Regions from separate parts of the Homo sapiens genome. Here all the other regions are linked to region 7. The links are contacts of gene promoters, found by promoter capture Hi-C in blood cells and fetal thymus (Javierre and others, 2016). All regions are on one chromosome and are shown on one strand. Each heading gives the region's core, a stretch centred on a gene start or on the middle of the fragment in contact. The rest is flanking DNA. Distances are from core to core; before and after follow the strand shown. Region 1 has its middle 13 kb from the start of PHLDA1-AS1. Region 2 has its middle 22 kb from the start of GLIPR1. Region 3 has its middle 5.3 kb from the start of KRR1. Region 4 has its middle 53 kb from the start of PHLDA1-AS1. Region 5 has its middle 17 kb from the start of DYRK2. Region 6 overlaps NAP1L1 (nucleosome assembly protein 1 like 1). Region 7 holds the start of ZFC3H1 (zinc finger C3H1-type containing).

What was found. Contacts are between HindIII fragments. The CHiCAGO score rates a contact against its expected background, and 5 or more counts as called.
Region 1: a contact is called between a fragment that was not itself captured here and the fragment with the promoter of ZFC3H1 in region 7, in 2 of 17 cell types (naive CD8 T cells and activated CD4 T cells). The highest score is 10.4, in naive CD8 T cells.
Region 2: a contact is called between a fragment that was not itself captured here and the fragment with the promoter of ZFC3H1 in region 7, in 1 of 17 cell types (total CD8 T cells). The highest score is 5.3, in total CD8 T cells.
Region 3: a fragment that was not itself captured here is called in contact with the fragment with the promoter of ZFC3H1 in region 7 in 2 of 17 cell types (naive CD8 T cells and total CD8 T cells); the score reaches 8.9 in naive CD8 T cells.
Region 4: a fragment that was not itself captured here is called in contact with the fragment with the promoter of ZFC3H1 in region 7 in 2 of 17 cell types (activated CD4 T cells and monocytes); the score reaches 10.4 in activated CD4 T cells.
Region 5: a contact is called between a fragment that was not itself captured here and the fragment with the promoter of ZFC3H1 in region 7, in 2 of 17 cell types (fetal thymus and activated CD4 T cells). The highest score is 5.8, in fetal thymus.
Region 6: a contact is called between a fragment that was not itself captured here and the fragment with the promoter of ZFC3H1 in region 7, in 3 of 17 cell types (total CD4 T cells, total B cells and activated CD4 T cells). The highest score is 7.2, in total CD4 T cells.

What each region holds. Positions count from the first base shown.
Region 1 is chr12:76,015,976-76,019,669 of GRCh38, forward strand. No RefSeq gene overlaps it. Among named protein-coding and RNA genes, the nearest start is that of PHLDA1-AS1, 13 kb to the right of the region's middle. The HindIII fragment of the contact is 6,475 bases long and covers 1-3,694 here.
Region 2 is chr12:75,456,765-75,460,032 of GRCh38, forward strand. No RefSeq gene overlaps it. Among named protein-coding and RNA genes, the nearest start is that of GLIPR1, 22 kb to the right of the region's middle. The HindIII fragment of the contact is 4,775 bases long and covers 1-3,268 here.
Region 3 is chr12:75,515,098-75,518,673 of GRCh38, forward strand. No RefSeq gene overlaps it. Among named protein-coding and RNA genes, the nearest start is that of KRR1, 5.3 kb to the left of the region's middle. The HindIII fragment of the contact is 6,037 bases long and covers 1-3,576 here.
Region 4 is chr12:75,975,209-75,978,854 of GRCh38, forward strand. No RefSeq gene overlaps it. Among named protein-coding and RNA genes, the nearest start is that of PHLDA1-AS1, 53 kb to the right of the region's middle. RefSeq lists enhancers at 2,266-3,465, 2,794-2,963, 2,840-2,984, 2,994-3,043 and a cis regulatory region at 2,905-2,918. The HindIII fragment of the contact is 3,115 bases long and covers 1-2,898 here.
Region 5 is chr12:67,630,249-67,633,631 of GRCh38, forward strand. No RefSeq gene overlaps it. Among named protein-coding and RNA genes, the nearest start is that of DYRK2, 17 kb to the right of the region's middle. The HindIII fragment of the contact is 1,649 bases long and covers 1,084-2,732 here.
Region 6 is chr12:76,037,167-76,040,675 of GRCh38, forward strand. NAP1L1 (nucleosome assembly protein 1 like 1) reads right to left here. Exons shown (of 15, transcript NM_004537.7): 15 at 1-3,509. Among named protein-coding and RNA genes, the nearest start is that of PHLDA1-DT, 7.1 kb to the left of the region's middle. The HindIII fragment of the contact is 1,280 bases long and covers 1,573-2,852 here.
Region 7 is chr12:71,662,047-71,665,325 of GRCh38, forward strand. It overlaps ZFC3H1 (zinc finger C3H1-type containing), which reads right to left and starts at 1,802. Exons shown (of 35, transcript NM_144982.5): 1 at 967-1,802. The coding sequence starts at 1,564. It overlaps THAP2 (THAP domain containing 2), which reads left to right and starts at 2,255. Exons shown (of 3, transcript NM_031435.4): 1 at 2,255-2,534. The coding sequence starts at 2,464. RefSeq lists enhancers at 1,425-1,544, 1,897-2,455, 1,905-2,264. The HindIII fragment of the contact is 1,665 bases long and covers 740-2,404 here.

The DNA of each region.
Region 1 (3,694 bases), core at 304-2,803, 4.4 Mb after region 7:
AGTCATATCCAGGTCCTTCAAATTCAAAGTTGTAGTCTTTCCAAAGAAAGGCAAATGAGTACAGAAATCACTACTTGTAAACTATTACAACTGAAACAGGGCAATTGAAGAATATCTTTACTCTAAAGACAAAGAAACTAAAGTCCAGAGACGCAAAATCATGTGCTCAGGGTCACACAACTTGTTAACGGCAAAGCCAAGTCTAGAATCTAGGATTCTTTCTACTACTCTTTGTTGACCCTTGAGGAATCTCCCGGGATAGTGTAAAAGCATGCTCCTCTTGTTGAGCATGAATGAAAAGCCTGAGATTCTTCTCCTGTTTTCTTGATTTGGATCTTTTGATAGACTCTGTGATTGGTGCTGGACATGACGTCTCTAAGGGAGCTAGCTTCTGCAAAACCAGCAAGCACCACTGATGGTGTCTCTGGCTTTATTGCTCCAGTTTCCGCTAAGAACCTTCGATCTTTCTTATATCTTTACCATGTCAATATGACTCTGACAGGAAGGCACTGAAAGCAACTACGTATTTCTGTTTTGAAATTTAGTTTTGTTCTATTTAAATTGTTCAGATGTAACGAAGGACCAATTGAAAATCATTACAACAGTACCATATGAGAAAGGAAAGTGTAAACCTTAGTAAGAATTATAAGAATACCTAAAATAGCCGGGCGCGGTGGCTCACGCCTGTAATCCCAGCACTTGGGGAGGCCGAGGCGGGCGGATCACGAAGTCAGGAGATCGAGACCATCCTGGTTAACATGGTGAAACCCCTTCTCTACTAAAAATACAAAAAAAATTAGCTGGGTGTGGTGGTGGGCGCCTGTAGTCCCAGCTACTCGGGAGGCTGAGGCAGGAGAATGGCGTGAACCCGGGAGGCAGAGCTTGCAGTGAGCCGAGATCACGCCACTGCACTCCAGCCTGGGTGAGAGTGCAAGACTCCGTCTCAAAAAAAAAAAAAAAAAAAAAAGAATACCTAAAATACTCTAAATTAATGTCTTTAAGAGCATTCCCATCTCTGAGAGAGGTCTGCATCGTATTTTAGTGCTAGCACACAGCCACAGTTTGCATAGCGTTTAAGCGCAAAGGCAGTGGAGTTAAATACCCAGATAACAATTCTCATCCTGCTGTTTATTTGGCAAGTTTCTTCAGTTCCCCAATCCTCAATTTCTTATCTATTAAGTAGAGGCTAATAAGACCTATAATAGAGGCTGCTAGTTTCCTTTCCAATAACCATTCTCCCCTCCTTCTTTGCTGACAGAACCCTAATTTTATTTGGGATGGCAATTTGGCCAGTACATTTCTAGCCCTCCTTTGCAACCCTGGATAGCAAATGTGGTGTTAAGTGGAAGTCACCATATTGGGATTCCAAAATTTTTCTAGGCTGGATATGGTAGCTCAAACTTGTAATCCCAGCACTATGGGAGGCCAAGTTGAGAGAATCACTTAAGTCCAGGAGTTCGAGACAAGTCTGGGCAACATAGGGAGACCCTGTCTCTACAAATAATTTAAAAATTAGTTGAGTGTGGTGGTGCGTGCCTGTGATCCCAGCTTCTCAGGAGGCTGAGGCAGGGGGATCACCTGAGCCCAGGAGGTTGAGGCTGCAGTGAGCTGCTGTTTCCCTAATTTTCTTTCTTCCTGTTCTAGAGCTCGAATATGGTAGCTGGAACTCCAGCAGCCATCTTGAATCATGAGGCTAGAAGTCCTGTACCAAGGGTGGTAGAAGAGAAAAGAAAGAAGGAACCCGGATCTGTGACAAACTAAAGTCACCTTACCCACCCTGGGCCACCCACATCTAGGTTACTTTTACATAAAAGAGAAGTAAATCTTTATCTTAATACACTTATTTTGATTTATCTGTAACAACAGGGTGTTTTTTTTTTGAGACGGAGTTTCACTCTTGTTGCCCAGGCTAGAGTGCAATGGCGTGATCTTGGCTCACCGCAATCTCCGCCTCCTGGGTTCAAGCAATTCTCCTGTCTCAGCCTCCCGAGTAGCTGGGATTACAGGCGCCTGCCACCAAGCCCAGCTAATTTTTTGTATTTTTAGTAGAGAAGGGGTTTCACCATGTTGGCCAGGCTGGTCTTGAACTCCTCACCTCAGGTGATCCGCCCACCTTGGCATCCCAAAGTGCTGGGATTACAGGCATGAGCCACCGCTCCTGGCCTGCCCTGTGGTCCTATTTTACACAGTCATTTGGTTCAACTGAATATCATTTTTTAAAGCCACATTGAAATCAAAGTGTTTTCCCAGGCTCTTAGAGTGCCCGGGTCAAGAATGCTGACAATCTGCTGTCAGAGAGAGAGGCTGTCCGCGTTACCCCCTATCAGCCCTCCCAGTCATCACTTGCATAAGAACCAGCAGGCAATCCACTGCCTTGTGACAAGCACTGTGACTCCAGGAGGGAGCCAAGTGCTATGAATGAAACCCCGTAAAAGGTCACTTTATGTAAGAGGAAATGTTGGCATCACCCAGAGCACATACACAATTTTGAATTAAAAGCCGGATTGCTGGATGCAGAAGTACATCTACTTATTAAAGATCCTGCTCCTTTTTTCTCCCTATCCTTTCATGAAAAGTTATTACAAACTCTAAAATCTTCTCCAAGTTAAATCCTTAAGTAAAAGAAGCACACAAGAAAACATTGTGTGGTTTGAAGTTCTTAATATCCTAGGTAGGTCAAAAACTGTTATTTATGGTTTAATTTGGAGCTATGTGAATTGCATTCACCTAGTTGCCCAGAAGGGCAGCAACAAATTTTTATCACTCCACGTATTAGGATCTCACCAGTGCCCATAGATCCACTACCCTCAACCAACCTTTTCAGAAAATATTTCTCCCAACACCTACACAGGCTACAAATCTAGGCAGCTACCTCCTCAAGTAACTGTATAAACATTCAAATCACTTCAACATTTTTCAACTCCACAGGTAATTTCAAGACCTGAGGGTGACTAGCAACAGGAAACATTCCACAAATATTTTAGGAGTCATAAGATAAAATCAATTTCAAATGGCTTTTTTAAAAGAATATATTCTAACAACCACATTTTAAAATAAGTCCATTTCAAAATATACTTCTGGAGGAGAAGGAGAGAGAAGAGGGAAAAAAAAGAAAAAAGAAAATGTGTGTGTGTGTATATATATATGCGTGTGTGTGTGTGTGTGTGTGTGTGTGTGTATTTCTGCAGTATTTCTGCAGGTAGGAGAGAGATTATTGCCTAACATTTTATAAAAAGCAATATATATATTTATACATATATATATATATATTTGTACACACACACACAGACACACACACACACTCTGGTTTCTTTTGTGAATTTGCCTGTTTCCTGAAGTTTTGTTAATCCATGTGGATTATATTTGAAAAGGGTAAAACATGATTAACTTTTTTTTTTTTTTTTTTTGAGACAAGGTCTCACTCTGTTTTCCAGGCTGGAGTGCAGTGGTGCAATTAGAGCTCACTGTGTCCTCGAACTCCTGGACTCAAGTGGTCTTCCTGCCTCAGAGTCCCAGGTAGCTGGGACCATAGGTGTGTGCCATCACATCAGGCTGTGTTTTTTATTTTTTGTAGAGGCGGGTTCTCACTTTGTTGCCCAGGCTGGTCTTGAACTCTGACCTCAAGTGATCCTCCTGCCTCTGTCTCCCAAAGGGCTGATATTACGGGCATGAGCCACTGAGCCTGGCCATGATT
Region 2 (3,268 bases), core at 636-3,135, 3.8 Mb after region 7:
CCTAGTAAGAGTGATCAAGAGAAAAACAGAAAAAAACAAAAATTACTAATATCAGGAATAAAACAAGGGACACCACTAGAAGTGCAAGAGAAATTTAAAGAATAAGAAGGTGAATAACTTTGTTAATAAATTCAACAATTTAGATGAAATGGACAAATTCTTGAATGAATTTTGAAAACAAACATGACAATAAAGAACAATTCTGATAGCCTCATGTTAAGAATTGTAAAGGATCTAAGATTTTATCCTAATTGCAAGCTAACAAGTTAGTAACGCTTTCAAGGAAAGAAAATACAAGACCTCTAGGTCAGAGATAAACAACGGTATTTTACTCATAGCAATGGTAATACATTACACTTTTTAAAACATTATTTTCTTACAATTTATTTTTATTTGAATGTATGTATGTATAATTTTAAAAATTGAATAATTTTCTCAGTATGTAAAAAAAGCTGTCATTGGAGCCACTGATGACAGGACATTTTTTAAAAGCTATTTTAGCAAAGAAACTGCAAAAAGAAAACAGGAGAAAAAAATTGGCAATCAAAATGTTCAAAGGAAACAGCAAAACTGCTGTTGAAACCACCATTTCCTTTGAGTTGAGCAACTTCAAAATAATGTTTCTCAGAAGTGTGAAATTAAGCTAAAAATGTTTAGCTGAATAATATAAACATTAATACAATGTTATCGCACTATATGGCCTACATTATCTCTTTGACTATTTACATCATGTATTTCCCCCCTGTAATATAAACACTCAGATGCCTGACAAATTTAGATGCCTAACAAGTTTAACTCATGAATGACTAAATCTAGCAGTGCTATTCAAAATCATGTAAGTACTTATACATACCAGCATTACCTATTAATTTTATTTATTTCTGCATGTTTATTTAGAAATTATCATGGGAACCAGCCCCCAATATTTCAAGGTAGGTTCTTTTCTATTTTCCCTAAGTGTCAGCTGGTCTGAGAAATAAAGAGACTACAAAAGAAAGAAATTTTACAGGTGGGTCTCCGGGGGTGACATCACATGTCGGAAGGTTCTGTGATGCCCCTGACCTGCAAAACCAGCAAGTTTTTATTATGGATTTCAAAAGGGGAGTGGCGTATGAATAGGGAGTGGGTCACAGAGATCACAGGCTTCAAAGGCAATAAAGTATCACAAGGGCAGAGAGGCAGAGCGAGATCACAAGGCCAGGGTGAAACTGGAATTACTGATGAAGGTCCATGTCCCGCTGGGCACACATTGTCATTGATAAACATCTTAACAGGAAACAGGGTCCCAGAGCAGACAACCGGTCTGACTAGAATTTCGCCAGGCTGGAATTTCCCAATCCTAACAAGCCTGGGGGCGCTGCAGGAGACCAGGGTGTATTTCATCCTTTATCTACAACTGTATAAGACAGACACTCCCAGAGCGGCCATTTTAGAGACCTCTCCCTGGGAATGCATTCGTTTTCCCAGGGTTATTCCTTGCTGAGAAAAGAATTCAGCGATATTTCTCCTATTCACTTTCTGGAAGAAGAGAAATATGACTCTGTTCTGCCTGGCCTGCAGGCAGTCAGACTTTATGGTTATCTCCCTTGTTCCCTGAAAATCACTGTTATCCTGTTCTTTTCAAGGTGCCCAGATTTCATATTGTTCAAACACACATGCTTTTCAATTTGTGCAGATAACACAATCATCACAGGGTCCTGAGGTGACATACATCTTCAGCTTACAAAGATGATGGGATTAAGAGATTAAAGACAGGCATAGGAAATTATAAGAGTATTGATTGGGGAAGTGATAAATGTCCATGAAATCTTCACAATTTATGTCCAGAGATTGCAGTAAAGACAGATGTAGGAAATTATAAAAGTATTAATTTGGGGAACTAACAAATGTCCATGAAATCTTCACAATTTATGTTATTCTGCCGTGGCTTCAGCTGGTCCCTCCATTTGGGTTCCCTGACTTCCCACAACAAGAAAGAATATCCTATTGGAATTTATAATAATTTTAAAAATTTAGCCATCATAATTATCTTAGGATAATTGGTATCAGAAGAGGATTGTTTAAAGCAAATATACTTTTTAAAAATAACTTCAACTTTTAGATTCAAGGGGTATATGTGCAGGTTTGTTTCATGAGTGTATTGTATGATGCTGAGATTTAGGGTATGAATGATCCTGTCATCCAAGTAGTGAGAATAGCACTCAATAGGTAGTTTTTCAATCATCCCCCTTCTCTCTTTCTCCCCCACTCTAGTATTCCCCAGTGTCTATTGTTCCCGTCTTTATATCCATGTGTACCGAATGCTTAGCTCCCACTTACAGGTGAGAACATGTGGTATTTGGTTTTCTGTTCCTATGTTAATTCACTTAGGATAATAGCTTCCAGCTGCATCCATGTTGCTTTGAAGGATGTGATTTCATTCTTTTTTATAGCTGCATAGTATTCTGTGATGTATACATACTATATTTTCTTTACCCAATCTACCATTGATGGGCACCCAGGTTGATTCTATGTTTCTGCTATTGTGAACAGTGCTGTGATTAACTTACTAGTGCATGTATCTTTTCTTGCAGAATGATTTATTTTCCTTTGGATATATATCCAGTAATGGGATTGCTGGGTGAAATTATAGTTCTAAGGTCTTTGAGAAATCACCGAACTGCTTTCCACAGTGGCTGAACAATGTATTAAGTGTTCCCTTTTCTCCACAGCCTCACTAGCATCTGTTGTTTTTCACTTTTTAATAATAGCCATTCTGACTGGTAAGCCACCCGGTTCTTCCTGTGAAGAGGTTGTGGTGCAGTGGGGACCTCTACACACCACATCCAAGCATATCTCCAGGCCTCTGGAGCACCCACTCTCCTAGATTAGAAGTTTAGGCTGCAACCCCCTCTCGGTACACAGAACTTGGGGCCAAGGAGGTTTCCCAGCTCCAAGCCTAGAGATACCTCTAAGTGCTTGGGGGCTGCTCCCTGGATTCTCCCTCAGCACTGGTTCTTGTGCCTGCCATTGGGGAATCTGTAGGCAGGCCTTCCCATTCTGGCACCACCCATCTTTCCCCACTTCCAGACACTAAGCAGGGAGCTCAGACCACTGTACACTCTGCCGATCAGCCTATTGCCTAAGGCAACAAAGAGTTTCTCCCGGTAAACAATGATCATGTATATACCCACCTACATTGGCTGCAGCCAGCTCTTACCCATAAATGCTATCTACTGGCTTGAATCTTAAACCACAAAGCCTAATATAAAACCCGCTGACAAAAGTG
Region 3 (3,576 bases), core at 437-2,936, 3.9 Mb after region 7:
AGAAGAATTGTGCAGCAGAAGTCCCTTGTACTTGAATTGCAGCATTGTCTTGTCTTTGTCTCCAGCCTGCCAGCCTACCGTGCAGATTTTGGACTCGCCAGCCTCCATAATCATGTGAACCAATTTTTTAAAATAAATAAAAATAAATTACACACACACACACACACACACACACACACACACACACATTGGTTTTGTTTCTCTGGAGAGCCCTAATACAACAATTTATAGTAGAGCTAATCCAAATGACTGACGAACATATGATGTTCAACCTCACTACTGTCAACAAAGTATACAGACTTAACAATGAAATATCACTTCTCACCCACCAGATTGAAAAAAAAGAAAAGAAATAAAAAACATACATTTAAAAAAAATACTGCTAGAGGAAAGAATAGTCTCATACATGGCTAGTGCAAATGTAAACTGTTACTGCCTTTTTGCAGAGCAATTTAGCAATATAAAATACACACATATGGTTCTGCAGTAATTCCACACCAGATAAACTATTGAATAGAAATAAAGGACCATTCAATTAGAATGTTTCTACAATAGTGTTGATTACTACCTTCTATAAAAGTAGTTTAGTGAAATATACTTTGGAGCCATACTGACTAGTTTGCCACCTATTGGCTATATAGCCTGGGGCGTTTCTTACCTACTCCTGCTCAGTTTTCTAAAATGGGGAGAATAACCTAACCCCTCAGTAGCTTAATACATGTAAAGCGCAAAAAAAAAAAAAAAAAAACTTAGCACATGATAAACACTTAATAGGTGTTAGCTATTATTGTTTATACTGGCAAAAAGTAAAAGCATTTAAACTATCAATTAGGGATCTAGTTAAATAAATTGATATTACTTTCATAACCATGGGCTATTATACAACCATTTATAAGAATTAAATCTATATGAAAAAATACATAGAATATTGAGCAATAAAAGCCAGATATGTAATATAAACATACACATACACACACGTATATATAATATGATCTCATTTTTCTAAGGCAAACCATTCATTTATTCAACAAATATTTACTGAGCATCTATGACATTCAAGACACTGTTCTAAATACTTGGTTATATTCTATGTGCTGAATATAATATATGAATACATGAGTTTGTATGTGATTGTACAATAAAAAAATTGGGACAGATACACATTAAGATTTTAAGACTGGCTAACTTAGAGATGAAGATGATTAGAAAAGAAGATGAAACTAGGCAAAAAGACAGAAGAAGATGTCCATGATAAAATAGCATGTATAAAATGATACTATTTACATACAACTGTATGTGTGTGTGTGTGTGTGTTTGTGTGTTTCTGTATGAAAAGATGGTCATCTAAATGTTGACTATGTTACCTCTCAGTATAGAGACATTTCAAAGTATGGCAATTAAATGGCAATACAGTTGTAAATCAATCACAATATACATCATTTTTCTTTAACATCCTAGGAAATCTGAACATAAATATGTAAATAAATAAGCAAATAGAATATGTACTTAAATGACACTAAAAGGGGAAAGAAAAATGGACATCTCTAAAGGGTTTCTTGGCACAAATCTAGAATCTAGATTGGAAAGCCCTTGGGTCACAGCCACAGGCAGGCCTTTCTTTTTCTTTTGGAGACAGAGTCTCGCTCTGTTGCCAATGCTGGAGGGCAGTGGTGCCATCTCAGCTCACTGCAAACTCTACCTCCTGGGTTCAAGCAATTCTCCTGCCTCACCCTCCCAAGTAGCTGGACTACAGGCGCCTGCCACCATGCCCGGCTAATTTTTGCATTTTTAGTAGAGATGGGGTTTTGCCATGTTGGCCAGGCTGGTCTTGAACTCCTGAACTGAGATGATCCACCCACCTCAGCTTTCTAAAGTGCTGGGATTATAGGCATGCCCTTTTTGATTGTGACTTCTCTCCTCTTTAGCCTCTTAAGCAATCTAGACCCACATGCAGCCACAATCATCTTCCTGTGAGAAATCTGCTCTACTTGTTCTTACCCTGCTTATTCATTTTCCCAGGGAAAGCACAGATTGTCCTCACAACAACTCTCCTTTGGAATTAAAGACCTTAATTCTCACGGTAACCAGAGGGTAGAGGGGAAAGAAAGAGTAAGGATGAGATTTAACAATGTCTTTGGAGAGTGTATTATCTCTTATTAAAGCAAACAGGAAAATGGCAAATAAATGTGGTTTATTTTTATTTAACATTTCTACACTGATTTATCAGAGATAAAAATTAATTTTGCACAGTAATCTACTTTCTTGCTAACTTTATTTTCTTTTTTAATAATCTAGATAGGATTTCTCAAGTACATAACGTTGACACATTTTTATTTTCTTTTTTTATTATACTTTAAGTTTCAGGGTACATGTGTACAATGTGCAGGTTTGTTGCATATGTATACATGTACCATGTTGGTGTGCTGCACCCATTAACTCGCCATTTAAACATTAGGTATCTCTCCTAATGCTATCCCTCCCCCCTTCCCCCACCCCACAACAGGCCCTGATGTGTCATGTTCCCCTTCCTGTGTCCATGTGTTCTCATTGTTCAATTCCCACCTATGAGTGAGGACATGTGGTGTTTGGTTTTTTGTCTTTGCGACAGTTTGCTGAGAATGATGGTTTCCAGCTTCATCCATGTCCCTACAAAGGACATGAACTCATCATTTTTTATGGCTGCATAGTATTCCATGGTGTATATGTGCCACATTTTCTTAATCCAGTCTATCATTGTTGGACATTTGGGCTGGTTCCAAGTCTTTGCTATTGTCAATAGTGCTGCAATAAACATACGTGTGCATGTGTCTTTATAGCAGCATGATTTATAATCCTTTGGGTATATACCCAGTAATGGGATGGCTGGGTCAAATAGTAATTCTAGTTCTAGATCCCTGAGGAATCGCCACACTGATTTCCACAATGGTTGAACTAGTTTACAGTCCCACCAGCAGTGTAAAAGTGTTCCTATTTCTCCACATCCTCTCCAGCACCTGTTGTTTCCTGACTTTTTAATGATCGCCATTCTAACTGGTGTGAGATGGTATCTCACTGTGGTTTTCATTTGCATTTCTCTGATGGTCAGTGATGATGAGCATTTTTTCATGTGTCTTTTGGCTGCATAAATGTCTTCTTTTGAGAAGTGTCTGTTCATATCCTTCGCCCGCTTTTTGATGGGGTTGTTTGTTTTTTTCTTGTAAATTTGTTGGAGTTCATTGTAGATTCTGGATATTAGCCCTTTGTCAGATGAGTAGATTGCAAAAATTTTCTCCCATTCTGTAGGTTGCCTGTTCACTCTGATGGTAGTTTCTTTGGCTGTGCAGAAGCTCTTTAGTTTAATTAGATCCCATCTCTCAATTTTGGCTTTTGTTGCCATTGCTTTTGGTGTTTTAGACATGAAGTCCTTGCCCATGCCTATGTCCTGAATGCTATTGCCTAGGTTTTCTTCTAGGGTTTTTATGGTTTTAGGTCTAACATTTAAGTCTTTAATCCATCTTGAATTAATTTTTGTATAAGATGTAAGGAAGGGATCCAGTTTCAGCTTTCTACATATGGCTAGCCAGTTTTCCCAGCACC
Region 4 (3,646 bases), core at 91-2,590, 4.3 Mb after region 7:
GAAGTGCAGTGGCATGATCTTGGCTCACTGCAACCTCCACCTTCCAGGTTCAAGTGATTCTACTGTCTCAACCACCCGAGTAGCTGGGATTACAGGTGTGCAACACCAGGCCCAGCTGATTTTTGTATTTTTAGTAGAGACAGGGTTTCACCATGTTGGCCAGGCTGGACTTGAACTCCTGACCTCAAATGATCCACCTGCCTCGGCCTCCCAAAGCATTGGGATTAAAGGTGTGAGCCACCACACCCCACACCCAGCCCTAAGCCAGTGCTCTTAAGAAGAAAACTGAGGCCAGCATGGTGGTTCATACCTGTAATCTCAGCATTTTGGGAGACTGAGGTGGGACAATTGCTTCAGGCCAGCTTGGGCACATAGCAAGACCTCGTCACCACTAAAAATTATAAAAACATTAGCTGGGCGTGATCCCAGTTACTCAGGAGGCTGAAGCAGGAGGATCACTTGAGCCGAGAGGTTGGAGCTATAGTAAGCAGTGATTGCGCTACTGCACTCCAACCTGGGTGACACAACAAGACCCTGTCTCAAAAAAAAAAAAAGAAAACTCTGAGACCTTGAACCCATTACTGCTAATAAACCCAATAACTTTTCATTCTGCCTAACAAAAATAGACCCTCCTTTAAAAAGTGGTTGCCAAGGGCACTCCAAGGTCATCAGGCAAGTGAAATAAGAGACAGCTTGATAGAGAAGAAAGAGAACTTGGCTTTGGAGTTAGACCGTTTAGTTCCTCATTATGGCCATTTCTAACTACATAATGATGTTTAGTTACTTAAGTGCTCTGAAATGCAGTGGCCTCCATTACAAAATGGAGCCAACAAAAAAAAATAAGTATCTCCTGGTGTTGTATTTAATAAGATAATGGACTCAAAAGTGCCTGGCACAAAATAGGGGTGTAATAAACGTTAATTTCCTTTTCTGCCTCTACAAACCTGCCTGAGCCAATCAAGGAAGAGAAGGAAGGCGAGGAAGTAAAAATGGTTAAGAATTACATTTTAAGTCCCATTTCCACTCAGCTGCTTTTCCTAGCTCAGCAGAGAACATGTCAGACTAAAGAAGATCAAATAATCTTTGGGGTGAGTTGCCCTGATAAAGAAATATGCTGAAACAGCCTGTATGTTCTCAAAGTAAGAAACCAAAAGGGGAAAGTTCAGGACCTGTAAATAGATCCTTTTCATGCCCAAGTTCTGCAGATTTTACAACTTGCTGGGATATTTCCCAGGGAAATCAGAGAGAGGGGATAGTAAGAGGTGGCAGGGGGTTGGCGGGGAGGATTTCTATATTCCCATCACAGATCATTTAACTCTATTTGCAGCTCAGGAACCCCAGAGCACAGGAGACAGACCACTGAAAATTTCGTGCTTATTTTACCTCTTCACTGTCATTACTTTAAACATGTGTCTTAGCAGGAGTATTATTAGTTCATGACACAGTAGACATGGATAAGCATTTTTATGGAATTTTAGGGTGGGGAGAGAATAGATATATACCACTCTAGCCCAAAGTCATCCTGTGGTCGCTACTTAATACAAGTGAATTACATAGTGCCACCGGCAGAAGATGGAATTGATACTGCTTTACAAAATAACAACCTTGCATACATAGGTGGTAAGAAAAGCAAGGAAATGACTACCACAAAAATCAGGGTAGTGGATACCTCAAGACAGGAGAAGGGAGGTACGTCTAGAAGGTAAACAAAGGAGGGACGTCTGGGCTGGCCATGTTCCATTTCTTGATGGAGGGTATTCACTTTGTAATTATTCATTGTACTATACACTTATGCCTTCTGTTTGCATATTCTATTTCATAATTTTTAAAGGTTTAAAAAAAAGAAAATAATAACCTCTCTTCATTGAGAAAATAATACTTTGCTGTAGGTTTCAGCCCTAGGTATTGCAACATTACCATCATCCTCAGTTGATGTTCTTGTTCCTCCCATAGATTTTTATTCTGGAAGAAGAAGAGGAGGGTAGTATTTTTTTTTTTTTTTTTAAGACAGAGTCTCACTCTGTCACCCAAGGCTGGAGGCCAGTGGCACGATGTCGACTCACTGCAATCTCTGCCTCCTGGATTCAAGAGATTCTCTGCCTCAGCCTCCCGAATAGCTGGGATTACAAGTGCCCGCCACCACGCCTGGCTAATTTTTGTATTTCTAGTAGAGATGGGGTTTCACCACTCTGGCCACGCTAGTCTTGAACTCCTAACCTCAAGTGATCTGCCCACCTCGGCTTCACAAAGTGCTGGGATTACAGGCATGAGCCGCTGTGCCTGGCTAGGAGGGTGGATTTTTGAAGAGCCACAGGTAGACTGCTGTTAATACTCCTGTATAGATAACATACCAGGGAATGTTTTAATACAGGAATATGCTTGAGATATATACACACAAACATAATACACACACACACACACACACGTAATTTTTTTTTTTTTTTTTTTAGAGAGAGACAGGGTCTTACTATGTTGCCCAGGCTGGTCTCAAACTCCTGGCCTCAAGCAATCCTCCCGCCTGGCCTCCCAAAACGCTGGGATTATAGGTGTGAGCTACTGCATCCAGGCTTTTGGGGTATATTTCAAAGAGTCCAATTACTCTTGAGTCAGAACTCAGTGAAGCTCTACAAGATACCAAAATGTTCTCCAAGGGGTACGCAGCATTCGCAAATCAGAGTCATCAGATGCAAAGAAAGGGAATACAAATGGGCTTATGAAATCATTGGAAAAAATACACAATTTTTCAGGAAATATTAAGAACTCAGTTCCTCCTCCAATTCAGGGCATAGCAGAGCCTCAGGGCCTCTATGTGAAGAAAATCCCTCCTGTGTTTGGCATCTGAGTGACTCACCCAGAAAACCATCCACTGCGTGCAGCAAAGAGGAAATGAATCATGGAAGCTTCTGACCTTTGCACTTGTCATCTCTGCACAGGGAAACCACCCACAGACAGTCTCAGCAGAACTGGAGTCAGGGCAGTCAAACAAAGCACACACAGAAATGATGCAAATTCACTGGCAGGGAAGAGCAAGAGAATCAGGGCAAGAGAACGCAGCTCAGGGGTTGCAAATACAGGATAAACATTGGTTTTGTGATACAGAAAACTTAGCAGTTGAAACGGCATTGAGGATGATTTGGCAGTGCCCACTGACCTGTTGTTTTAAGCAGGAATCTGAACCCTTACCCTGCTGGCTGGGGGTGGGAGTGGAGTGGAATGGCATGGAAGAAAACAATGACCTTTGAATCTCCATCTTATATTTGGTATTTGGAGAATTTGCTTGGCTTGCGTTAGAGGAAGTAGGCCAAACTAATGCCAGTATGAGAGTTGGAATGGATTTGATAGAGTCACATTTAAGAAGATGAAAGCCAACGACTGCATTTTGAAAAGGCCATGAGTTCACAATAACTGGTCCAGGAGTACTAACACAATCTGAAGAATTATCTACAGCCATAGTCCAATACTTCACGTTGTGATTTGTTTTAAACAAAATCAGAATGCCTTTAAAATGCTAATTTGGAAGATAACTATAGTTCATCCTAAAACATGTACAGAGTAGAAAGCAAACACCTAGCGAGGACAGAAGGGCAAACCTCAAACTGCCTACATTACTGAATACAAGTGCATCAGGACTGTACGCTGAGATGCG
Region 5 (3,383 bases), core at 658-3,157, 4.0 Mb before region 7:
AAGAAAGAGTTTGCTTTAAGCATCATCTCTGTTCTGAATATATTACTTATAGCTGAGTGTTTCTGTAGTAATGAGACATTTGAATTGTTTCTTGGTGCAAACCATGTTTATGAACTTCTACAAGAAGTTCAGAACCTCAACACTGCTTTCAGGAAAAGCAAACTAGTAACAGTAAGATATCAGTTGTGTGCTTCTGATGTAGAAAAAGAGTCCCAAAATAGAGCTAACTCTGTCTAGAAAAGCTGCAAGAGGTTACCAAAGAGTAAAACCAAAGATTTTACTGCAGTGAGCTATTACACAGGCAGTGGTTTTAGGGTCTTCGCACTCTTCGGTGCTAAGTATAAATCGGTTTGATTTTCAAGCACAAGAGAAAACAATGTTTCTTGTGCCAGGTATGTATTTATGCACAAACTAGTTTGAAAGGCTTCAGCGTGAATGCCCAAATTACAATTGACCTCTGTTAGTCTCAGCAGTAGCACCAAGAAATGGAGCATAAGAAATGAAAAGAAAGAAATGTCAGGATACATTTGTAGCAACAGAGAAATGGCGGTGAGAAAATCTCAGGAAATACAAAGCTTACAGTAAAATTAAAAATCTAAATGCCTGCTGGAGAAAGGTGGTAATGTCAATGGGTAAAGCCAGCCTAGCACACACACAATAACAGGAAGTGGTGGGGACTGCGGTGACCTGCAGGGCAGGCACTGGTGGGAAGTGGGGAGGGCTGAAGCTACAAAAGGTGGGGGATGTTCTCCGTTGCCAAGTAGGACTAGGAGGAAGCACAGTGCAGACAGATTTTGCCTTATTTCCAGAAAAGCCAGAAATCTGGATATTTACATGAAATCTCCTGATTTTTAAATGTTGGCATTTAGTTCACATTTTCAAAAAACACTGTGGAAGCCAAACAAAACATATCTGCAGGCTGCTTTTGATCTGTAATTTCTAACTTTGCAACTTCTAACTTTGCCATTTACATACAAACAGTTTTAATTATTGAGTAAACTGAGCCATTAAATCCCTACATAGTTATGACAATGATTTCCCCTACACAGAAGAAACAGAAGAAACCATTTTTTTATGACCTGAAGCTTCTGTTGCAGTATGAAATCATGTTATTCAAATACTAGCAGAGGAAAAGCAAAATAATAGAATAAAAATAATTCCTTTCCTTTTCAGAATTTTTACAAATGAAAGTTGTCAACTTTTATTACTACTTTTGCATAAATCTTCTGAAAGTTAAGTCACCATTAAACTAAATATGATGTGGAATAAGGTAGAGTTACGCTCTGCTGCTTCTGAAATAGGTTGACATTTTATAAGATTCTCCTGGAATATTCCTCTGAAGGATGTTGGGTTTCAGAAATCATATAAGCTGATGGAAAACGACTGGTTCTGACTGAAATGAACAAGTGGAAGGAGAGATTTTCATTATGACTAAGGCTATTTCATAGTCTTTCCCAGTAACTCATTTTCTCCATCATTCTATCTGGAAATCTTCATTGAAAAGCAAGAATACCAGACAATTGGATAGATTTGAAGGAATGCTTAAACTCGATTCATTCTCATAGCCTAAGCAGGCCTCTGGACCATGCTTCAAGCACTGTGATTTGAGAGGAATCTGAGAAATGTTCTATCTTCCAGGGAAATTTCCTAAGAATCTTTTGCCCTGTGGTGGCTTTATTTCTACCTATACCTATAGATTTGGAGGAGAGAGGGTCTTCATTTTTCTCCTCTAAATTAATTGAGAGAATAGACATTCCTAGAGTGGGGGTAATATCTTAAAACCCTTACCAGCTAATGGTTAAGGCAGGAAAATGACTTTTTGTTCCCCCAGCAGGAGCAGGGAGCCAACAGGGCAAGACTATAAAGTAATGGCAGAAGCTCCGGAAGTCTGGAAACAGTATGAACTGGAAGTGTCAGAGTGTCACTCAATTCTGCCTAGAGCAAGAGTTCAGACAGCCTTCAAATCACTTTGGATAAACACAGGAGGCAGCCAGGGAAACAAAGCACTGTGGAGTTCAGTGTTCATTGCCCGGATGGGCTGATGGGCTCGTTGAGGAGAGGGAGTTTATTTTAAACATCTTTTGTGCCTCTTTGCAATGCCTGGTGCAGGGTTAGGCATACATCTTAGATGTAATAAATACAAGTTTAAATGAGTACAACATCTTCAGATGGATTTGTGACTCTAGTGTCAGACTATTGTATATATTATCATTTGACATTTCAAAATCATTTATATTCTATCATACTAAAAGGCTCACACATGCATGTATTGTTGAAGTTATTAATGGTTTCTTACCTAATTCAGGCACATTAAGTCTGCAGGTTAAATGCCAAGAAGTAGACTTTCAATATAACTAAAACATGCTCCTTAGAAGCAACCAAATTGTTTTAAGTATTTTAATTAAGATACTTATAAAATTACTGCACTCTTTCTTGCTTCACAAATTAGAGTTAAGTATAAAGAGCAAAACTGAACTATTTCTTAATCACTGCAAAAGATCATCCATCACATCTGTTGCATTAACACTTTAGGATTATTGTTGGTCTAGAGCATCTTACTTCAGTGCTCTACGGCTTAAAGCAGCTATGCTTTTTAGATCCTTTGCTTGCTTTTGACAATTTTTCTGTCTCTTTCCTTACTGAAAATAGTCAGTGGATCTTTTACTATCACCCTCCCACCTTTCTTAATTTGCTAACTCTAACATGCAATGGCCTGAGAAACCAGATTTCTAAGCTTAATAGGAAGGTGTATCAAAGAATAATAGCTCATACTTGTGCATTTTCTGTGTGCTAGGTTCTGTTCTGTGAATTTTAAATAGGTAATCTGATTTAATCCTCTATGAACCCTACAATGAAAATACTATTTTACAGGTGAGAGAACTGACACAAAGAGCTTGAGAAACTTGCCAAGTTCATATAATTAGTAAGTAGGGGAGACACAATCTGTATTCAGGCCATCTGACCACTGTACCATGCTATGGATTGTTTTTGAGTAAAAGAATGGATGATTCTTTCATTAATAAAATTCATGGATTGCAATGCATGGATTTTGTGACACCAATTGTGTTTATCTACAAGTCTTTAAAAAGTCCCTTCTGCTCTTCAGCTGTGTTCTGGATCGTTGATGTTAACATTTGGATGACCTCTGAAAAAGTCAGAGTTATGGTATTTTAAATGTAGGGAAGGCATTTATATTTTCTGGCTTAGTCTTTTCACAAGATTAGTTTCAAAAGGTGAGTAGGGTTCTTGTTTGGTCTCATCAGTGATAAATCAAAATTTCCTCAGGTTCTTCAGGGAATTTAAAAAGTCCTCATTGCTTGAAATGAAAATAGAAAATGACTTCGAAGTTAGAGAGATTAAGGATAATTTTAGTAAACTTCACT
Region 6 (3,509 bases), core at 963-3,462, 4.4 Mb after region 7:
CTAGATTCTAGTTTCCAAAAGTCCTTGAGTTGAAAACGTTAAGTATTAACACAGAACTATCCAGACTTCTTAGGTGGGTGTCCAGAGCTGCCTTCCTTTTCGCCTTAGTAGTTGATGAACTGATGCCTCCTAGTGACCAATCTGTGTAACAGCTTAAAGCAAGTGCTTTATAATGAGTGCTTAGCGCTTTTTTTTAACTGTAGTACAAACACAATTGTGGATCCAAGCACCGTCCATCAGCTGTCTCCGTCCTTTCTGTTCTGCCAGCAGCCTAATTCAGTTCTCTCATCTAAGTTCTTGGGTGGCCCAATCACCTGATCCATACTCATACACATGGCCTTCAGTTTTACTCTTAAAACATGACAGAAAACTTCTATTCGCCTCCAATTGTATACATTCCAATTCCTTACCCTTGCATGACAAGCCCTCCACAGAATGGGTCCTACTTATTTTGACTCGTTCCACTCAACCTTGAGCGAGTGCCAGTCATACATCTCCTTGTCCTCGCAGCCTCCAATTTACCTTCCCAAATCCTCTGTAAACCTTTCATTCTTCAAAGCCCTATTCAAATCCCAGATTTCCTCTGGCTGAGTTAATTCCTTCCTAATCACTTCAAACTCTGATGAGTAGTTATCCAATTTTCACGTCTACTTCACTAAATATCCAAGATCCTGGATGAGTGTTTTCGCCATTGTACCTAACGGAGAGCTGATTGACAGCACTTAAACTGAGGGGAAATGACTAATGTTTTGTCTGGAAATGTATTGATATTATTCAAAATGGGCAAGCAGGCTATCTTATTGAGTATTAACAAGTAACCAGGAAGTCTGATTATTTGTAAACTTGTTATGGTAATATTAGCTTTGAAGTGACAAACGAAAATATGGAACTGGATGAAATGGAGCAGAGAGGAAGGTAATCCAATGAAGGAGGCTGAGAGAACCAGTATTATGTTGTCACAAAACTGCAATCACTCAAAAGTGTTGATATTCTGGCTCTGGGTCTCTGGGGTGACAAGATACCCCAGTAACTAAGAGTGGAAGCAATCCTCTGTCCCCACTGAAGAGCCCAAGAACACCTACCACCTTTCCTAAGTATGCTTCTACTCTGAAACCCGGTAAATGCAACCCGTTGTTTGCAACTCAAATATGTAACTGACAGTCACTTGGGCAAATACCTCCATTTAAGGAACTAAATTCCAAGGATATTTCCCTCTTTTGCTGTCATTTTTCCATTGCCACAAAACACACAGCCTGAGGACATAGGCTGTTCAATTTGATCACTATTGATCTCTGTAAGAAAAAAAAATCCAGTAATGGGCAAATACCTTTCTTAGGTGATAGAGGACATATAGCAGTGAGTGTAGACAATTCCTCCCAAAAACATGAGAATAAAGAAGGTGGTAGTGGTGTTACTTTAGAAGAACAACTCAGGCTTCAGAGAGGGTAAGTTTCATTACAGACAAGGTAATCTAAGAGTAAAAGGGATAAAAGAATTCTGTGGGGTAGCCAGACTCAGAAAGGTGGAATAACACTTTTACAAGAAGATAAAACCCAGGAAATGTTTATGGCAAGCTTGTATGTTGCCACTAAACCTACCAGAAAAAGAAATCCCATTAGAACCGCCCCCATCACAATAACTACCTAAGTAAATCATTGTTGAGTAACAATGAGCACCCCTTAAACATGTCAGAAACCAGAAAGTTTTTGTTTCTAATGAGATTTCATTTACACTTTTAAGTCATTGTCTCAACCTAATTTGTGCATGCATGGTTCTGAGAAAGGTTATCATGCAAAATGAAATAAAAAGCCTTGGGCAAAGCAGGACTCCAATCATAATTAATCCTTTTGGGCCGTATTTAAAGAAAATTACTTTTCTTAGCCCTGTTCACTTATTTCTAAAATGTAGTTATTTGCTTTATGTTCCAGGATATCCTTGATCAAATAATCCTTTTCTAAATCAACTTATTTCGACATATGTGGCCAATGTGGCTGTCATCCTAACCTCCCTTGGCATTCACACCCAGCTCTATTTTATTTACTATCCTACTTTTAGCACTGTGAGCATAAACCATAGGTTCTTCTTTTTACAGGAGAGGTTGGATGCCAGTAGCCTTTAGCCTCCTTCAGCCCATCCTGTACCTTGAACCTGGACATGATGTATAGAGCCCCAGCAACCACTTGATAATAAACCAACTTGCCAAAGACAAAAAGTAGAATGAAAGTCTGCCTGAGAACCATGAAGCTCCCATATCAGTCCCAGAGTCTGTCTAAGCCTAAGAGAAAAACCTATATAAGCCACATTGTATTGGGGCTGTGTTATACAACATTATAATAAATACAAACTCTTCAGGGCAGGGGAGAGAAAAAGGAAAGATTATCTGAATATTGTTTAAAATGAAATCTAGATTAACTCTGGTCTCTAAAATATTTCATCTCTGAAAGCTCTAGCCTAAAGAACATGCTTATTTAACCACTAGTTGTGTGACAGAAATATCTACAAGGCAGTGCAAAGTGTAGGGCCATCCAAATGCTGGCTCCAACACAACTCAACTGTGTCATTGTTAAAGTTACTTAACTTCCATCCTTATGCATAAAAAGGGAATTAATATTCTCAATCAAGTATGATTAAGGCATTATTTTTATTATCTTAATGTTAAACGAACACTTAGTTCTCCCCAAATTGCTGATTAATACTGTAAACTGAAATCCCACTAGTTTAAAACTATACATGGAATAGCAATGAAGTTTTTCTCGAAACCTCTCAGTCTAGTTACATTATACCCAACTTTTGAAAACACGTGTACTTAAGGGTCACCTTATACATACCACTTGAGGTTCCTTTACTAATCAAGCTTGACATTTTTGTCTGAGGGAGTTCACTACGTTATAGCTTGAATTATAGCTGGAAATCAATTGTCCAGCTATAATTCAAGTAAAAGATTCCAAAATGATGGGGAAAAGCATATGTTTTTCTCCCTGAACAGGCATACAATATGTAATTTAAGCTTTGATGTCTTTGGTCATTTTGGAAAACGACTGCAACAAACTAAGCCCAGTCAGAAAAATTTTGCTTGTTTTAAGCCATTAAGTTTTGGAGGTTGTTTTGTTATGCAGTACTAGGTAACTGCAACTATTGATATGCCTTCCCTTGACTTTAAAAAACAACTAAGTTGACTCTTGAATATCAAATTTGAACTAAGAGGGTCCACTTACAGGTTTACTTCTGTCTCTACTACCCCTGTGACAGCAAGACCCCCCTCCTCCTCAGCTATTCATGAAGGCAGTGAGGATTGAGACTGTTATAATCCAGTTCCACCTGAGAGTAAATATACATACACATACATATACATACACACACACACACACACAGACAGTTTCATTCTGTTGCTCAGGTTGGAGTGCAGTGGCACTATCTCGGCTCACTGCAACCTCCACCTCCCGAGTTCAGTCAATTCTTGTGGGCTCACTGCAACCTCCACCTCCAGAGTTCAATCAATTCTTGTGCCT
Region 7 (3,279 bases), core at 552-3,051:
GAATTACAACCAGTAATGAAAGTCTTTAAACAATTTTTGCAATGATCACAGATTAAGTCAAGATAGTGTTTTACAAACCCATTATAAAACAGGAAACCTTCGGATGATTGATTCCTCTGTATAAATGCTGAGTAAACTCAGTAATGTTTAAAACTGAGAATAAGGTTAGAAGTAGGAAAAATCTGGAATGTTACTATTTCCTTTCTCAACTTACCCGTAATCTCCACCCTCGCATACACATTCCTCCACTCTAACGTATTAAAATAAAAATGCTGATAAGTTTATCTTTCTCTCTCTGGCCCTCATTTAGTCAGCACGAAGTTACACAATGTGCAAAAGTGAACACAGATAGAAACGTAAAGGAGGTAAAGTGTTCCAAAAAGATCAAATGAATCAAAAAGCTCTGAAACAGACTTGGTAAAGACACCAGAGTTGTTTTTTTTTTACCCCTCCCCCCCCCACTTTAAAAGGCAGCAACCGGAATAAATCAAGATAAAAACAGAATCACAAAAATAGTGCAGGACTGTGCAGATTAAAACTTTACAATTTTCAACGTCAAACTGCAATATGATAAAGCAACAATATTACTTAAACTGTTTATGAATATTTTTTCTCTAACAATCCAAGTCAACTTCATATAAAACACAAAGTTTCTGTACCAGCAAAAATACAAATGCTAATGAAACTTGGGCTTCTAAGGTATTATTACAAATCAGACTTAACTGTCTTAGATTTCATAAGCTTAACCCAATCCACAGCACGTTAATATACCCAATGAAGCAGTCTTAAGAATAACGCTATAGTGTGACACATGGGGAATTACCAAAGAACAACTTAAAGTATACTGACACAGGGAGAAATAAGCGGTTCTGATGATTCAAAGTTACACTCGTCTCACAGACCTAGTAATGACGCTAAAGGGAACTTTAGTGACACACCCAGCGCCGACCGCCACGTTAAGGATACAGCTCTTCCGAGGTGGAGAGGGCTCTCGCCAGCTCTGACTGCTGCTGAACCCGGATCCTGCTCCTCCTCCCAGAGGAGGTCTGCACCCCGGCTTGCCTCCTCGCTCACCCACTCCTCGCCCCCGACTCCAGCGACTCCCACCCCGGTAAGGCCTGCCTCGAAAGCGGAAACGGTCCAAGGCGAGGTGGCTCCGCTCCCAGAAAGACGGCCGGGGACTGCTTTCGGACAGTGAGCTCGAAGGCATCCGTACAGAAGGCGGATGAGACCGGAACGGTTCTTTGGGTCGGTAGCTGCTGGGTCCCCTGAGGTGGCCCCGCTCAGACGCGTGCCGCGAGCGTGAGAAATTCCTCAGCTGCTGCTGAGAAGAGGACGATGACGAGGAAGAGCCACCGCCTCCGCCAGATCCACCGCCCCGGGCCGAGTGAGGAGGCCTTCGCCGCGGATAGGGTAACAGCCCGCCGCCGCTGCTGCTGCTGCTGCTCCGACTCCGTATCTGGCTGTTATTATCGTCGTCACTGATTTCCCCATCTTCAAGCTCCCCTTCTTCCTTCGGCGAGAGGCCACTGGAGGCCGGGGCCGGAGTATCTGCGGTCGCCATCCGGGGAGCAGCGCCTTCCACACAACCTTAGCCCTCCGTCCGGGGATCCGCCCGACAATTGCCTCGTTTCCCTTCTTTCCTAACGGACTGGGTCGGTGCGGTCTTACCCTACTCGGACACCAAGCGGCCTCTGCTCCCCAACTTCCCCGCACCCCAGCACCCCAGCTCTCTCTCGCCGGACCGTCGCAACCCAGTTCCCTTTCCTAGCGCCCCCTTGCTCCTCAGCGATCGGGGTTCTTCCGCCTCGCGAGAAAGGGACTCTGGTAGCGGCTGTACCCGAAACGTCACTTCCTGCGACACGCAGGAAACAAAGGCTCCCAGTTCACGCGATAATAAGACCAACTCGATACTCACTAGGATTTGTAGTCTTTCGTCTTTCTTCGGGTTTACTCTTCCGGTCCTAGGGTCACACCCACCGCAGGGTCTGGCTTGGTACAGTTGGGTGCATGCAGAAGTAGGTGGAGCTGCTGTTGCAGCCTTGAGAGAGTTTTATTGTAAAACTCTTGTAATTTATAGTAATCGGAGGGGAAAACACCTCTTCCTTTTAATTGCTCTGAGGACCGCTGCCAAAGAAACGCAGTAGATCCGCTCCCTCTTGGGGGCGGGGAGAAAGAACGGGTTGTGTCCGCCATGTTGGTGAAGTCAAGCGAAGGCGACTAGAGCTCCAGGAGGGCCAGTTCTGTGGGCTCTAGTCGGCCATATTAATAAAGAGAAAGGGAAGGCTGACCGTCCTTCGCCTCCGCCCCCACATACACACCCCTTCTTCCCACTCCGCTCTCACGACTAAGCTCTCACGATTAAGGCACGCCTGCCTCGATTGTCCAGCCTCTGCCAGAAGAAAGCTTAGCAGCCAGCGCCTCAGTAGAGACCTAAGGGCGCTGAATGAGTGGGAAAGGGAAATGCCGACCAATTGCGCTGCGGCGGGCTGTGCCACTACCTACAACAAGCACATTAACATCAGCTTCCACAGGTAACCTGGGCAGGGAGTGGGGGTGACGGAAACTGGAGTTCCTATTGTGGCTATCGCTTGTGTGGAAGGAACAGGAGGATTCTGCTAATTCTAATAACTTTCCCAGCTGGTAGCAGGGAAGCATCGTATGTCCTTTGTGTTTCTCAAATCTGCCCAATTGTTCTCTGCTTTCGGGGAAGCTTTACTCATTTTCTAAAAGAAATCCAAGTACTGTTTGGTCATTACCCCTTAGTAAAAAAAAGTAACAGGAGGATATCGTAATTTTCTACTGTTTTATTCCTCTGTTAGACCGGGCCTTGACATGAATGACGCCGTAAGGGAGAAAGAGATCTTCCCAATCAGCAATCACCGTAAAAGCCTGCTGTGTTCCCGTTAAAATTAGGAAATTCTCACTAGATGAATTGACATGGGAGGCATTTAGATTTCTAATAGTCACATAGTAATTCTGCGGAGGAATTGAGTCATCTTTGATAGCCATGGAATTAAGCGATGTTAATTAAAGTGCAAAAGATAACCTTTCTGTTCTTACTAGAATAGAGTAATAAAAAGAACCTAGGTTTTCTTTTGTTTGCTGGAAGAAAAATCAAAATTCTTTAGTTCTGTCAAACCAGAACTCTTGAAAGCACTTTGAACAATGCCTGGAAAATAACAGGTACTCTGTAAATGTTTACCTTCTCTGCAAGTGCCTGCCACGTGCCCGAAGAAAAGACACATTAAAAAGTTAAGTGACACCAGTCCTGATTTT